Linked DNA regions of Homo sapiens: region 2 is linked to region 1. Evidence: promoter capture Hi-C in human tissues and cell types (Jung and others, 2019). All regions are on one chromosome and are shown on one strand. Each heading gives the region's core, a stretch centred on a gene start or on the middle of the fragment in contact. The rest is flanking DNA. Distances are from core to core; before and after follow the strand shown.

The links. Contacts are between HindIII fragments. The study calls those that stand out against the background at their distance.
Region 2: a contact is called between a fragment that was not itself captured here and the fragment with the promoter of MTMR1 in region 1, in 2 of the 25 tissues and cell types used here (dorsolateral prefrontal cortex and hippocampus).

What each region holds. Positions count from the first base shown.
Region 1 is chrX:150,691,866-150,698,443 of GRCh38, reverse strand. It overlaps MTMR1 (myotubularin related protein 1), which reads right to left and starts at 5,048. Exons shown (of 16, transcript NM_001306144.3): 1 at 4,768-5,048. The coding sequence starts at 4,913. RefSeq lists enhancers at 3,505-3,584, 3,605-3,704 and silencers at 4,598-4,737, 5,048-5,117. The HindIII fragment of the contact is 13,070 bases long and covers 1-6,578 here.
Region 2 is chrX:149,971,624-149,977,961 of GRCh38, reverse strand. All of the region lies in intron 9 of EOLA2-DT (EOLA2 divergent transcript), which reads right to left. Among named protein-coding and RNA genes, the nearest start is that of EOLA2-DT, 36 kb to the right of the region's middle. The HindIII fragment of the contact is 5,103 bases long and covers 1-5,055 here.

The sequences.
Region 1 (6,578 bases), core at 3,799-6,298:
GTGACTCAGAAAAGTAAAGCTGAACATGAGATTTATAAATTACAGCCTAGAAAAATGATGTTCTCTGTGTAGTACTAACAATACCTTACACTTCTATAAGTGCTTTGACAACTTACAAATGGTTTTTATTTTTTATTTATTTTTTTTTTTGAGACAGAGTCTTGCTCTGTCACCCAGGCTGGAGTGCAGTGGCGCGATCTCGGCTCACTGCAAACTTTGCCCTTCTGGGTTCAAGCAATTCTCCTGCCTCAGCCTCCCTAGTAGCTAGGATTATTTAGGCGCATGCCACCATGCCTGGCTAATTTTTGTATTTTTAGTAGAGACGGGTTTTCACCATGTTGGCCAGGCTGGTCTTGAACTCCTGACCTCAGGTGATCCACCCGCCTTGGCCTCCCAAAGTGCTGGGATTACAAGCACAAATGGTTTTTATTATATCAGAGCCTCACAACCATGGTGTGATGAGAAGGCAGAACAGGGACTAGCCGACTTGTCTTTGAGGAGAGAAAATCGAGGCACAGAGGTGACATGCCCTGTGAGAAAGTGGCTGTCCTCAACAGGACATGGAACAACCAATAGCGACTGACTCACTGCACTGAAGCCAGCAGCACAGATGCGAGCCAACCGCTTTACATGAAAACACAGCAATGCAAAGAAAATGTCATCTTTCACTCCCACAGAGCTCTGAGGCATCAAAGCATTTTCACACACGTAGCCTTGCCCAGCCTCACAGTGACCCATTTTACAGATGAAAAAATTAAGGTCCAGTTTTGCCCAAGGTCACACGACTGGCAAGTGGTCAGGCTGTACTCACCTGACCTGAAAGACCACATAAGCCAACTAGCGCAGTAAGAGATTTAACAATTGCCCCCAGAGGCCGGGTTCCTCTCACAATTTGGCAAAACACTAAGAAATCAAGCTAGAGGGCTAAAAACACCGACAAAAGTTTACCTTGCAGGTAGCTTTCACTGTAAAGAATGTTTCAGGCCTTTAAAAAAAAAATCATATCACTAATTAAACCCACACTCACATATCTGAAGGACAGAAACACCTGGAATCCCCAGGCAATATGGAAAATGACCCAAATAGTAAAAGAAAGAAAACTGAAGTTCTGTGCTAGTGATCCAAATTGCAGTCTCTGATCAAAACAGACCAGAGGTTATCTGTATGGTTGAAAATACTGAATGAGCAGAAATTCCTATCACATGCCAGGAATCTATATACCACAATTTCGACCTGAGGGGGAGAAGGAGAGAAAAGGGAGAGATTTGTTTCCTTTTTAAAGGTTAAGTCACTTTCATTCCCACGTATATCATACTTTTCTTGTCATAATGCCTTTTTCTGTCAGCACCCACCAGTTGCAAATACAGGAAGAAACTGCAGAAACCCAACTGCTGAGCATGAGTGTGACCTGCTATTACCACCTGCCTGCCCGGCATGCCTTCCCCCTTCTTCTGATAAAGACCTTCCTCTTTACTTTGGGAACTGCCCTTCCCCACAACACAGGCTTCTGTGGGGGAAAGCGGAGAAGAAGGTTGACCCCTTCCTCCACCTGCTCCCACTTGTAGGTGAGTTACCTAGGACCAGCCAATCCCAGACTTTTCCCCTTGGATCCTGAAATACATGGATCTGTATCCAGAGCTGCTGGAGGCCACTCCCCACCCCACCCCACCCCTACCATCTTAAGGAACTCACAGCGATTAAAAAGTGAGGGAAAATAAAAGAGAGAGGGAGAGAGAGATGGGGAGTCCCGACAACACTGTTTGCAATCCTGACCTCAACTGTGCCTGTGGCCATCTCTCCTCCTGTCTGGAGCAGTTCTGTGAGCCAGGGCATCTCATTTGCCTTAAGCTAGATTGAACTGTGGTTTCTGTCACCTGCAACCAGAAGCATCCTGGCCAATGTAGTTACACACAGTGAAGCACAGTGGGTTAGCAGACAGGAGGCCTGGACATGAGTCCTGCTTCTGTCACCAGCTAACTCCATGATCTTTGGCAAGACACATCCTCTTACAGGACCACAGCTTCCTCATTATTAATTACAGTATTCAGAAGAGAAGTGAAGGCCCCATAGTCCCAGGGACATGGCCAAGTCCCACCCATAGAGCCAGGTTCCATTCTAGAGGTCACTCTTCAAAGAAAAGTGTGAATCTGAGCTTGTTGAGCTGACAGAACTGAGAAAGGAGGCCATGATTCCTCCCCCATCCCTTCTCTGTAGTCTGTGCAATTGCCCTCTATACTCCTGGTGTCAATAACTACTTACAGGCTGGAGGCTCCCAGCTCTGTTTCTCCAACCTGGACTCTCCTGATCTCAATGCTGATGTTCCTACAAGACCTGTCCACTAGTCTGGCCCAGAGACCCTGCCAATTCAACCTGTCTAAACCAGCATCAGCCGCTCAGCCCCGCAACCTACTCTGCTCCTGTGTTTCCTAACTCAGGGCGCAGCACAGCCAGTTATCCGGCCCCCACACGCTAGAAAGCTGAGGTTTGCCTTGGAGTCCACCCGGCACTCCCCCCTCACATCTGAATGCTCACCATGTCGGGTCACTCTTACCTGGTAAGCATCTTGAAAATCCACCCAGCCCTATTCCTAGCCCAATTCCCTTTTCCAGACCTCCATCATTCTTCTGTGAACTCCACCTGCCTCATGAATTTAAGCCTCATCTATAAGCCCATGACTCCCCAGTTTGAATCTCCAGCCCAGACAACCCTGAACTCCAGGCTCAGATAGATCAACTATATCTTTGACATCTATTCTGGGACATATAATTGGCATCTCAAAATTGATATGTCCAGAGCGAAGAGCCTGCTATTTTCTAACCCTGCTCCACCTTAGAAAGACTTCTCCATCTCAGCAACACAATTTTCCCACAAGCTAAAATTTTGGAATTCTCCCAGATTCTTCTCTCATACCAACCAACCAATCTTCAGCAAACCCCATTGGCTCTACCCTGCAGGTCTTCAAATTACATGTAGTATCTGACCACTTCTCCCCTCCTCCGCTCCACTCTGGACCACCATCTCACTTGGCTTACTACAATAGCCTCCTACTGACAGTCTCTGCTTCAGCTCCTTCCCCTTTCACTCTATTGTCCACATAGCACCATGGAGAGCCTACTGAAATCTACAACAGATGATGTCACTCCTCTGCACAAAGTCCCCAGTGGCTCCCCATGGCCTCTGAGGCTCTCCACCATCTGGCTCTGTGACTTCTCTAACGTCATCCCTTACTTGTCTCTCCCTAGCTCCCTCCCTGCTAGTGACACCTAGTCTCCTCGCTGATCTAGGAACACTTGGCTCACATTCACCTCAGGGGCTTTGCACAGGCCTCTGACTAGAATACTATCACCCCCAGGTATCTGTATGGCTGGATCCCTCGCCTCTTTGGGGGCATTACTCAAATGTCAGCTTTCTCAGGCTTTCCCTGATCATCAAAATCTCTGAAGGAAACCAGAAGATGAGGCATATTTGGGGGTGACACATTCTGGTCTCCTTTGGCTTCTTAAATGATTCTGATGCATGCCCATCCTGAGTACTTCTGTGTTCGCCTCTACCACCTATCTCATTTATCACATTCGATTTCCACTGTTGGTTGGTTTGTATTCTCCACTAGATGGTAAGTCTAGCAAAATGGTAAGGCAGCAAAAGCCGTGTTGTGCTATTCTCTGAATCGCCCAGACCTCGTGTGTGGTTGAATATTTGCAGATGAGTGAAGTCCTCACCATTTCAAGTGCTGTCTTAGCTGTGACTGGTTTTCAGTGACACTAACCACTTGGGTGATTAATTTATTAAAATATATTGTAATTACACTGAGGTAGAAACAAAAGTGAAGGGAATGTTTCTTGTTTCTGTGCTTTTGGAAACTCCCAAAAGTTTGGCACAATGGGATGACCAAGACAGGCAGGAATGGGCATGTAAAACTGACTGAGCTACATTCCAACAGTGCATGCTGCCTGAGTGCACTCTGGTGTCAGGGAAATGGCCAAGTTGTGGGAAAACTGGATGTTCCGGGTTACACGATAGGCCATCTCTTGTCGTCGGAGGAGGCGGTGGCCCCTCCCAGTTCGACACGGTCACTTTATGTTTCTAACTGATTTCTCTTAGTTCTGCAGCTGCCTCAGAAGCAGTAGGCTTGCTTGTGTGTTCATGAAAACAATAAACTGGTTCCCTCAAAGTGTGAAGAACTGAAAGTAAATGGTTCTGTTTTCTTGCCTCCTGAGCAGTTTGGACGTTTTCCATCTCAGATTTTTGCCTCGATCTGCACCAGCTCCCACGCCCGCGGGGTCCCATCTCCCCGTCCTCACTCCCAACCCCCCATCAAAGACCCTAAGCAGCCACAGCAGAATTGGGGTCTTAAAACCACACGAGGCAAGGTGATGCTAGAAGAGGAGAGCCCGGGTGGGATCTCCCTCCCAAGAGGATTGGTGGCCTGGGCAGGGACAGCCAAGCGATCGCCAAGGGCAGCAGGTGGCGGCGCCGGAAGTGGTTTGACAGCTGCGAAGCCCCTCCCGGGGTTCCAGGAGCTGGGGCTCTCGGGGCGGAAGTGAGCCAGGTGCGCGGCCCGCAGCAGGTCCGAGGGCAGCAGTCCCCGGATGGGGCGCTGAGGTTTCCGGGGGTGGGGGGGAGGAGGGCCCAGAGGGGATGAAGAGGGGCCGCCCACCCCGCCACCGCCAGGCCCTGCGCAGCGCGCGGGGAGGGGGCGGGCTGGCCTCGCGCGGGGCCCTCGGGAGTCGGGGCGCGGGAGGCCGGGGCAGCCCGGGCCCCGCTTACCTGTCCAGGGTCTCCACGCTGGGCTGCCGGGAGCCGGCGGTGGCGCCCCCCGCGGCCCGAGGAGGCCTCCTGCCGCCCGCCGGCCCCGGGTTCGGGCCCCCGCCGCCCTCGCAGCCCGCCGCCGCCGCCGCCGCCGGCCTGTCCATGGCGCGCCGAGTCCTGCCGCCTTGGGGAAGCCGCCGTCGGGACGGGAGCGGCGGCCGGGAAGGTTTCGCTGCTTGCCTCCTGCCGCCCGCTCTATACCGCCCGCCCGCCTCAGGCGGCCGCCGCCATTAGCTGTCACCTGGCGGCCCCGCGTTACCCACAAGGCCGCGCGCGCGGGGGTCGGGGGGCGGGAGCGGGGGCGGGGAGGGCGGCGCGCGGGGCCGGCGCCGGGAACCCCCACCTCGCCCAGCCCCACCTGGGCGCTCGCCCACGGAGCCTTACAGCGGGGATCTGGGACCTCCTGCTCCAGCGACCTGGGTGCGTACAGAGCCACTGGGGTTCGGAATCCCCAAACGGATTATGCGTAGCGTGCTTCACTCTATAGTCACACCGGGTTGACTGCAGAGACGTGGGGTGTAAAAAGAAGTTTGAAGACATTCAAGTATCAAAAATGATTTCCCACCTCAGTTGTCCTTCCCGGAAAAGGTATAGAACAGCTCAAGCTCCCTCGGTCTTGACATCTTGAAGCAGGAGCAATTCCGTGCATTTTAGCAATTCCTCCCCACCCCATTCTTCCCTCCACTCTCCCCCTCCATACGCACCCCGCCGCCCCGCCACAAACCCACCCCCTTGCCATCTGTAGGGCAACCAAGTGTTCTGATGCCGCCCTCGGAGCTTCCGCCCATGGTTTATGTTAAGAGTAACATTTAACTTCTGTTGATTAAAAAATCACTGCTATGAACATCAAGCCAATATCTTGGTGAGGCATTTAGGACATTTGCTTTCTGGGCTAGATTTATTTCCTTGCTCATTTTGTTTGGGTTCGAATATCCAACAGCTCATCCCCTCTCACCTCACCCCTGATTAAGTTGGGAGTGGGTGTGTGGCTCGTGATTAAGCCTCTTTGCCTGTGATTGCTCTGGGTGTAGACAGGAGGCCTGCGACCCAGGTCTGGAAAAGAAGATATAAAGGGAACAATTTGCTCACTGTTAAAAGGCAGATCTGCAGACAGGGAGTTACTCATGCCCATCCCAGACCCATCCTGCCCCACCAGCTTAATAACTTCAAACTGAACTTTGAGGATATGATGCCTGAAGCCCCGACAGCCATCTTACGCACAAGAGGAGGTGAGCCTGGGGTAAGAAGATGACAGAGTGAGGAGGGCTAGGAGGAAGGAAAGGAAGATCCCCAGACAATAATAGCTCCTATCTCACACTGGAGAATCACCGACTGCAGGTTGCTGGCTTTCTAAAATTATTAAATCAAATGGTTAACCCACTGTTATGGACTGAATGTTTTCATCCCCCTGAAGTCCATATGTTGAAGCCCTAATTCCCTGTGTGATGGTATTTGGAGATGGGGTCTTTGAGAGGCAATTAGGTCATGAGGGCCAAGCTCTAGTCTGATGGAACTGGTGCTTTTTAAGAAGGGTCACCAGAGAGCTTGATCTCATGCACTCACATGCACACACTGAGAAAAGGCCGTGTGAGTACACAGCAAGAAGGTGGCCATCTGCAAGCCAGGAACAGAGCCCTTACTAGGTCCCTGCTGGACACTTAATCTTGGACTTTCCAGCCTCCAGAGTTGTGAGAAAATTTCTGTTGTTTAAGCCACCCAGTCTATGGTATTTTGTTTTGGCAGCCTAAGCACACTAAGACACCCACTTT
Region 2 (6,338 bases), core at 1,255-3,754, 720 kb after region 1:
ATGCCTAGAATACTTGCTGCTGCTGTTACTGACATTTAAATGATAGTGGCTGGGCGCGGCGGCTCACACCTGTAATCCCAGCACTTTGGAAGGCCGAGGCGGGCGGATCACAAGGTCAGGAGTTCAAGACCAGTCTGGTCAACATGGTGAAACCCCGTCTCTACTAAAAATACAAAAATTAGCTGGGCATGGTGGTGTGTGTCTGTAATCCCAGCTACTCGGGAGGCTGAGGCAGGAGAATTGCTCGAACCAGGACCTGGGAGGTGGAGGTTGCAGTGAGCTGAGATTGCACCACAGCACTCCAGCCTGGGCTACAGAATGAGACTCCGTCTCAAAAAAAAAAAAAAAAAAAAAAGATAGTAATGAAGTACTACAATAAGAATAAGACATGATCATAAAATTATACCAAAGCCAAAGCACTTAATGCCTATGAAATGGTGTTTAACAGTTTTATATTGTCACTGATGGGGCCGGATACAGATGGTTACATTAGTTGGATATAATATTAACTAGGCAAAACTTTAAATAAAATTGCTACAGAGATCTGCATTCCATTACCAATAGCTCTGATTGCCTAAATCACACTAGCATACTGAAGCCACACTCTGGGCAAAGCCACCATTCTGTAGAGTTTCTGTCAAACACTGTTATTGAGGAAGCAATACTTAAAATAACATTCCTTTTAATGATTAGAGTTGGCACAAACTGCAGGACAGAAAAAAATTCTATATAGCCACTGGGGAAAGGATAAGTAGGTTGTGTTTTGCAATTCCTTCCTGGTGAGTTTACAATTATTCCACAGCATGACAGCTAAAATGCCTAAGAAATCACTTACCTGAATCTCAATAATAATTAGTCCCCTATTCTTTGTATGTTCACCATGAGTTCTGTTGACCTCACCACATGGAAAGATTAAGTTTACCCATTTACAGTTCTAAGTATTTATTCCTTACAGGCAAACAAAAGTATGCTGGAGGTTTAACAATTTCTGGCCAACAGTGTGTATTTTAACTAGGATGTTTAAGATGCATCGGTTGAATAATTAATGTATAAATCTTAGCCAGCTGGGTAAGGAAAATGAAACAAGCTTTATTTGTTATAGATATAGATTTAGCTATATTAAAGTCTTTCTGCTTTTAAGATGAAGTCTCTATGTCAAAAAAAAGCCAAAATACAGAAATACTCCTGTTCGTAGTGTAATTAAAAAGGAAATTAACAAATTGTGTTAATTTGCTGTACTCGTAATTTGGCTGAAGACTGTGGTGTTGCAGTATTACCATTTGGGTGTAGGAAAGCATGCAAATGAATCTACCAGCACTTATCAACTCTTCACTTATTTCCTCATTTGTTAAACTATTCAGAAACGTGTGGCCTGCCTATAGTAAGCTATAATTAGGGCTACTTTTAATAATTAAGGGCTATTTTTAAAATTAACATTTTAAAGTCCACTGGTAGCCCTTACATCTTTTGTCTCACACTGGCAGGACCAACAGGGTGCCAGTTCAGAAGAAGCAAGAAGAAGCACTTAATTTTACTGTAGCCCTCAGCAAATGAGCCATGTGTGATTTTGGCAAAGGAGGAAGGTCACCCAGCTTGCTGGTGGTATGTGCGTCACTAGGGGGTCTATCAACTCCATCAGAGTCCCTGGAACACAGTGAACCTCTGGTTTAGTACTGGTATGTAAGATATTGCATCTCAGAGGTCAAGGAGCACAACTGTTCAACCCTATTCAATTTGCTTCCTGCCATTTCCACAAATGCTAAAAAGTTGACTGTCTTCAACACTCCTGGCTCTAACGAAGAAGCTGGGGAAAGGATTTTACTATTTATAGTTTAGTTTTGACTCTCAGGGTTTTCATAGGTTCAACTCAAATGTAGTGCTTAGGGTATATTTATTTTTCTCAAGTCAAAAAAGCCAAATGCCAAAGCCACAGAATTCTTTTCTATGCTTTAGAACTCACAACTGATAGATGAACTATACATCTGTGCCTCCTTGATCCTCATTGTATATATGGGGAAACTGAGGCACCAAACATTTAGATGACTTGCCTAATGTTTCATGGCCAATTAGTGGCAGAGCACTGGCTAAAACCCAAGCCTCTTGCCCCCTCTCCCACAAATCTCCATGGAGAGCTCTTCCCAGCACACTATATCACCCCCACCAAAAGTGAGACTGCTATAAAATGTCTGGACATGAGTTGTATAGGGTAATTTACTGATACAAAGAAAGATCCACAGGGTTGTCAGTGAATAGACACTCAGGCTTTTAAAGAATGGCCTGCTTACTGAGCTGCTCAGCCTCTCCCTGGGGTCAGACCAAAGTTTAACAATGTGTTGCATTAAGAAAGATACTGAGGGGTCCCCCACAAGGTCGGACACCATGGCTCAACCAGGGTTTGGCTGGCTTAGACTTGTTCCTTACAACTGTTACCTCTAACCCTGACCCAACTGCCTGTGATCTGGCTCAAGACCAACACTCTTTGGCTCCTCCCTTGGTTCATTTTTAGATTCTTACTCTTTCTTCCTCCCTCCCAGCTTCCATCCCTCCATAATTCCTCTGTTCTTGAATCCTCTACCCTACCTGCCCCCTCATCCCAGGATTCAAAGTCCAGGACGCCACAGCTGGAGTACTCTCTCCCTTGGTGCACTAGTTCTTGTAGATGAGAACCAGAAGTGTGGAGTAAGGTAGGGAAGGCAAGAGTATTTAAACATCTTTACTTTTTCAAAAAATCAACTAGAAGGTTCTATCAATTTCCTTCCACAAGAAGGAATTGCAAAACACAACCTACTTATGCTTTCCCAATGGCAACCTTTTTCATAGATACAGTACAATGAAAAAATAATCAAAAGCTGACCAAGGGCTTTGCAAACATCTTGAAGGGCCTATGGAAGCATCAGGAAGATGAAATTTTATTCTACCATAATTAAGACTGAATGTACTTTCCTAAATTCTTGACTTTTCAAAATTGTTCACCTCTATATGGTTTACAGCAACTTATTCCTTGTAGAATATTTTCTAGGTATAAAATCACTATTATTTGGGGCTATTGTTTTTGTGATTTTTTTCAAAGAGCCAGGAAGACACCTCAACAATCATAAAGATAATTCCTCATTAAATGGCATGAGTAGAGATCTTTCATTTAGCGAAATAAGCTTTCTGTAGGGAAAGTTACCCAGAAAATTAGAACTTGTTTAGCAAATGTGTGTCACATCAGTGATTGGCAATAAAATAAACACAGGAAAGTATAAATTCAATTCATGCCATTTCTAAATTTGTGATAACTCAGTCATGGCTGGCATATTTCACCTTTCCTCTATCAATTAAAGAAAGAGCTAGGTCAAATGGTATTTCTAGTTCTAGATCCCTGAGGAATCGCCACACTGACTTCCACAATGGTTGAACTAGTTTACAGTCCCACCAACAGTGTAAAAGTGTTCCTATTTCTCCACATCCTCTCCAGCACCTGTTGTTTCCTGACTTTTTAATGATTGCCATTCTAACTGGTGTGAGATGATATCTCATAGTGGTTTTGATTTGCATTTCTCTGATGGCCAGTGATGATGAGCATTTTTTCATGTGTTTTTTGGCTGCATAAATGTCTACCATTTGACCCAGCCATCCCATTACTGGGTATATACCCAAATGACTATAAATCATGCTGCTATAAAGACACATGCACACGTATGTTTATTGAGGCATTATTCACAATAGCAAAGACTTGGAACCAACCCAAATGTCCAACAATGATAGACTGGATTAAGAAAATGTGGCACATATACACCATGGAATACTATGCAGCCATAAGAAATGATGAGTTCATGTCCTTTGTAGGGACATGGATGAAATTGGAAACCATCATTCTCAGTAAACTATCGCAAGAACAAAAAACCAAACACCGCATATTCTCACTCATAGGTGGGAATTGAACAATGAGATCACATGGACACAGGAAGGGGAATATCACACTCTGGGGACTGTGGTGGGGTTGGGGGAGGGGGGAGGGATAGCATTGGGAGATATACCTAATGCTAGATGACGAGTTAGTGGGTGCAGCGCACCAGCATGGCACATGTATACATATGTAACTAACCTGCACAATGTGCACATGTACCCTAAAACTTAAAGTATAATTAAAAAAAAAAAAAGAAAGAGCAACAACAGGTTTCTGAGTAAATTAAGAGTATAAACATGAGCTCTTAGGGGATGTTTAACCCAGTTCAGAGAACAACTCTTTCCAAGCTCTCTAACAAATTCATTTGCATATAAATAATTAGTGTGCTGATTTCAAATGACCTTTACCTACTCATTGGAGTATACTCGATCAAGACCTCTACTTGGCAATATTTTGTTAGCTTTTTATAATATCATTTCTGCTTGAAAATAAGAAAAAAATTATTATTTTAAAGAGATCTCATTAAAGAACATTAAGAAAATGTCTGTCCATAAATGCCTCATGCAGTAAGACATGAGGCAGTTTGCCCCATTATTCAGGGTATATAAACCAAGTCTCCACTTAGGATCCAAAATGCCCAGTACTTTAAGAGAGTCAAAGGGAAAGACCATGCGCTTGTATTGCTTTTACAATTTAAAAAATCTACTTAGTGTAGAAAATTTCAGAAAATAGGTAGATAAGTGTTCTAGTAACTCAAATTCTATCTGAGCCTGAAAGGTAACTCAGAGGTCATGCAGGATGACCCAACCCCTGACAACAAAACGCTCAGCATATGCCCAGAAACCTGGCTTTTGCTTAAGGATATCCAGAGCCTCAGAGCTTCCCATCTCCCAAAGCTCTTCCCATCATCCAACAGTCAAAGTATTAGTCTTTCCTTATATTGGACCAAATCTGTCTCCCCGTAATTCCTACATATTGGTCCAAGTTTCTAGGGGAAAAAAACAAAACAAACAAACAAACAACAACAACAACAAAAATGATGTTTCTATGGTTCTTTACACAGCACTTTCCACATACACATTCTCATTGGACTATCTTAATAATCCTGTGAAGCAGTTATTCCTACTACCCTTGTTTCACAGATGAAGACCTGGAGGCTAAGAGAGGCTCAGGAACTACTGACGGTTGCAGAGTGGTGAAGTGTCAGAAGCAGGGCTTGAACTCAGGTTTTCTAACTCCACCTTTTATAGCATTTTCAGTATCCCTTGTTGCCTCAAACATTAAAAAGAGAGAGAGAGAAATACGCTGCTTCTGCTTCCCCATGGGAACAGCCTTTGAAGTCGAAAGGGGGTAGAATTATTGAAGATGCACTCTCCACACATTCTCTCTGAGAGATGTCTTACTATTCACTTGGGTTTAAACTGCCCAGACATAGAGGCCTTGACCTGTATTTCCAGCCTAGACACATCCTGAGTTCCAGAACAAAATAGCTGCTCTCCCCTCTGGAAGTCCCACAGTACCTCAAATTCAGCAGGTTCCAAGCTGAATTTATCCAATTTTTTTGTACATTCTATCTCCACTGTTCATTCCTGAACTTGGTCAAAAATACCACCATCTACTCAGACAGCCATGCCAGAAACCTGGAGAATTACCTTAGACACTTTTCTCTCCCTCACCAATCCTCCCCACAACATCGTAAGAGTTTCACCATTTTGCATCTGCCTCTTCCTCTCTGTCCTCACTGCTACTGCCTTATACAGTCCACCATATCTCTTAGATGAATTCAGTGACCTTCAAAATGGTCTCTAGGCGTCTAGTAGCATCCCTTTCAAATCTACCTGCCTCCATGTAGACTGTCACCAGAGTGATGCAACAGGGCAGTCTATGTCACTCATTGCCTCCACATGTGACTCTCAAATCTAGCTAACTAAGAAAATGCCTGTTCCCCAGATGATTTCAATAATTCAGCAATGTGTAGTAACTAATGGTGTACAAAGCAAAGTCTACGTACTCAATGATCTGAATCTCACCTACCTCTCTAAGTCATCATTTCTGCCATTTTCCCCTTGGCAAGGAATACTCCAGCAATCCTAAAAACATACCATACTGGTTTGCACCTCTGTGCCCTGACTGGGGCTGATCTCTCAGCCTAGAATATCTTTACCCTTGGCCAATCTCCAATGAACCTTCAAAACTTAACTGAGGTGTCACTTCTTCAGGTAGTCTTTCACAACATTATCAGACTGGATTAGGTGCCCCTCCGTATGACTCCACGGCATCACACAAAGTTCTCTATCATGACACTTAGCATATTGTGTTGAAATTATTTGCTCATATTCTGACAAGCCTATAAGCTCTCAAAACCAAGGAACATGTTTATTCATCACTGATAAGTACCTGTCACTTAGTAGATGCTTAGTAAATGTTCACCTGAAATGGATCTAAT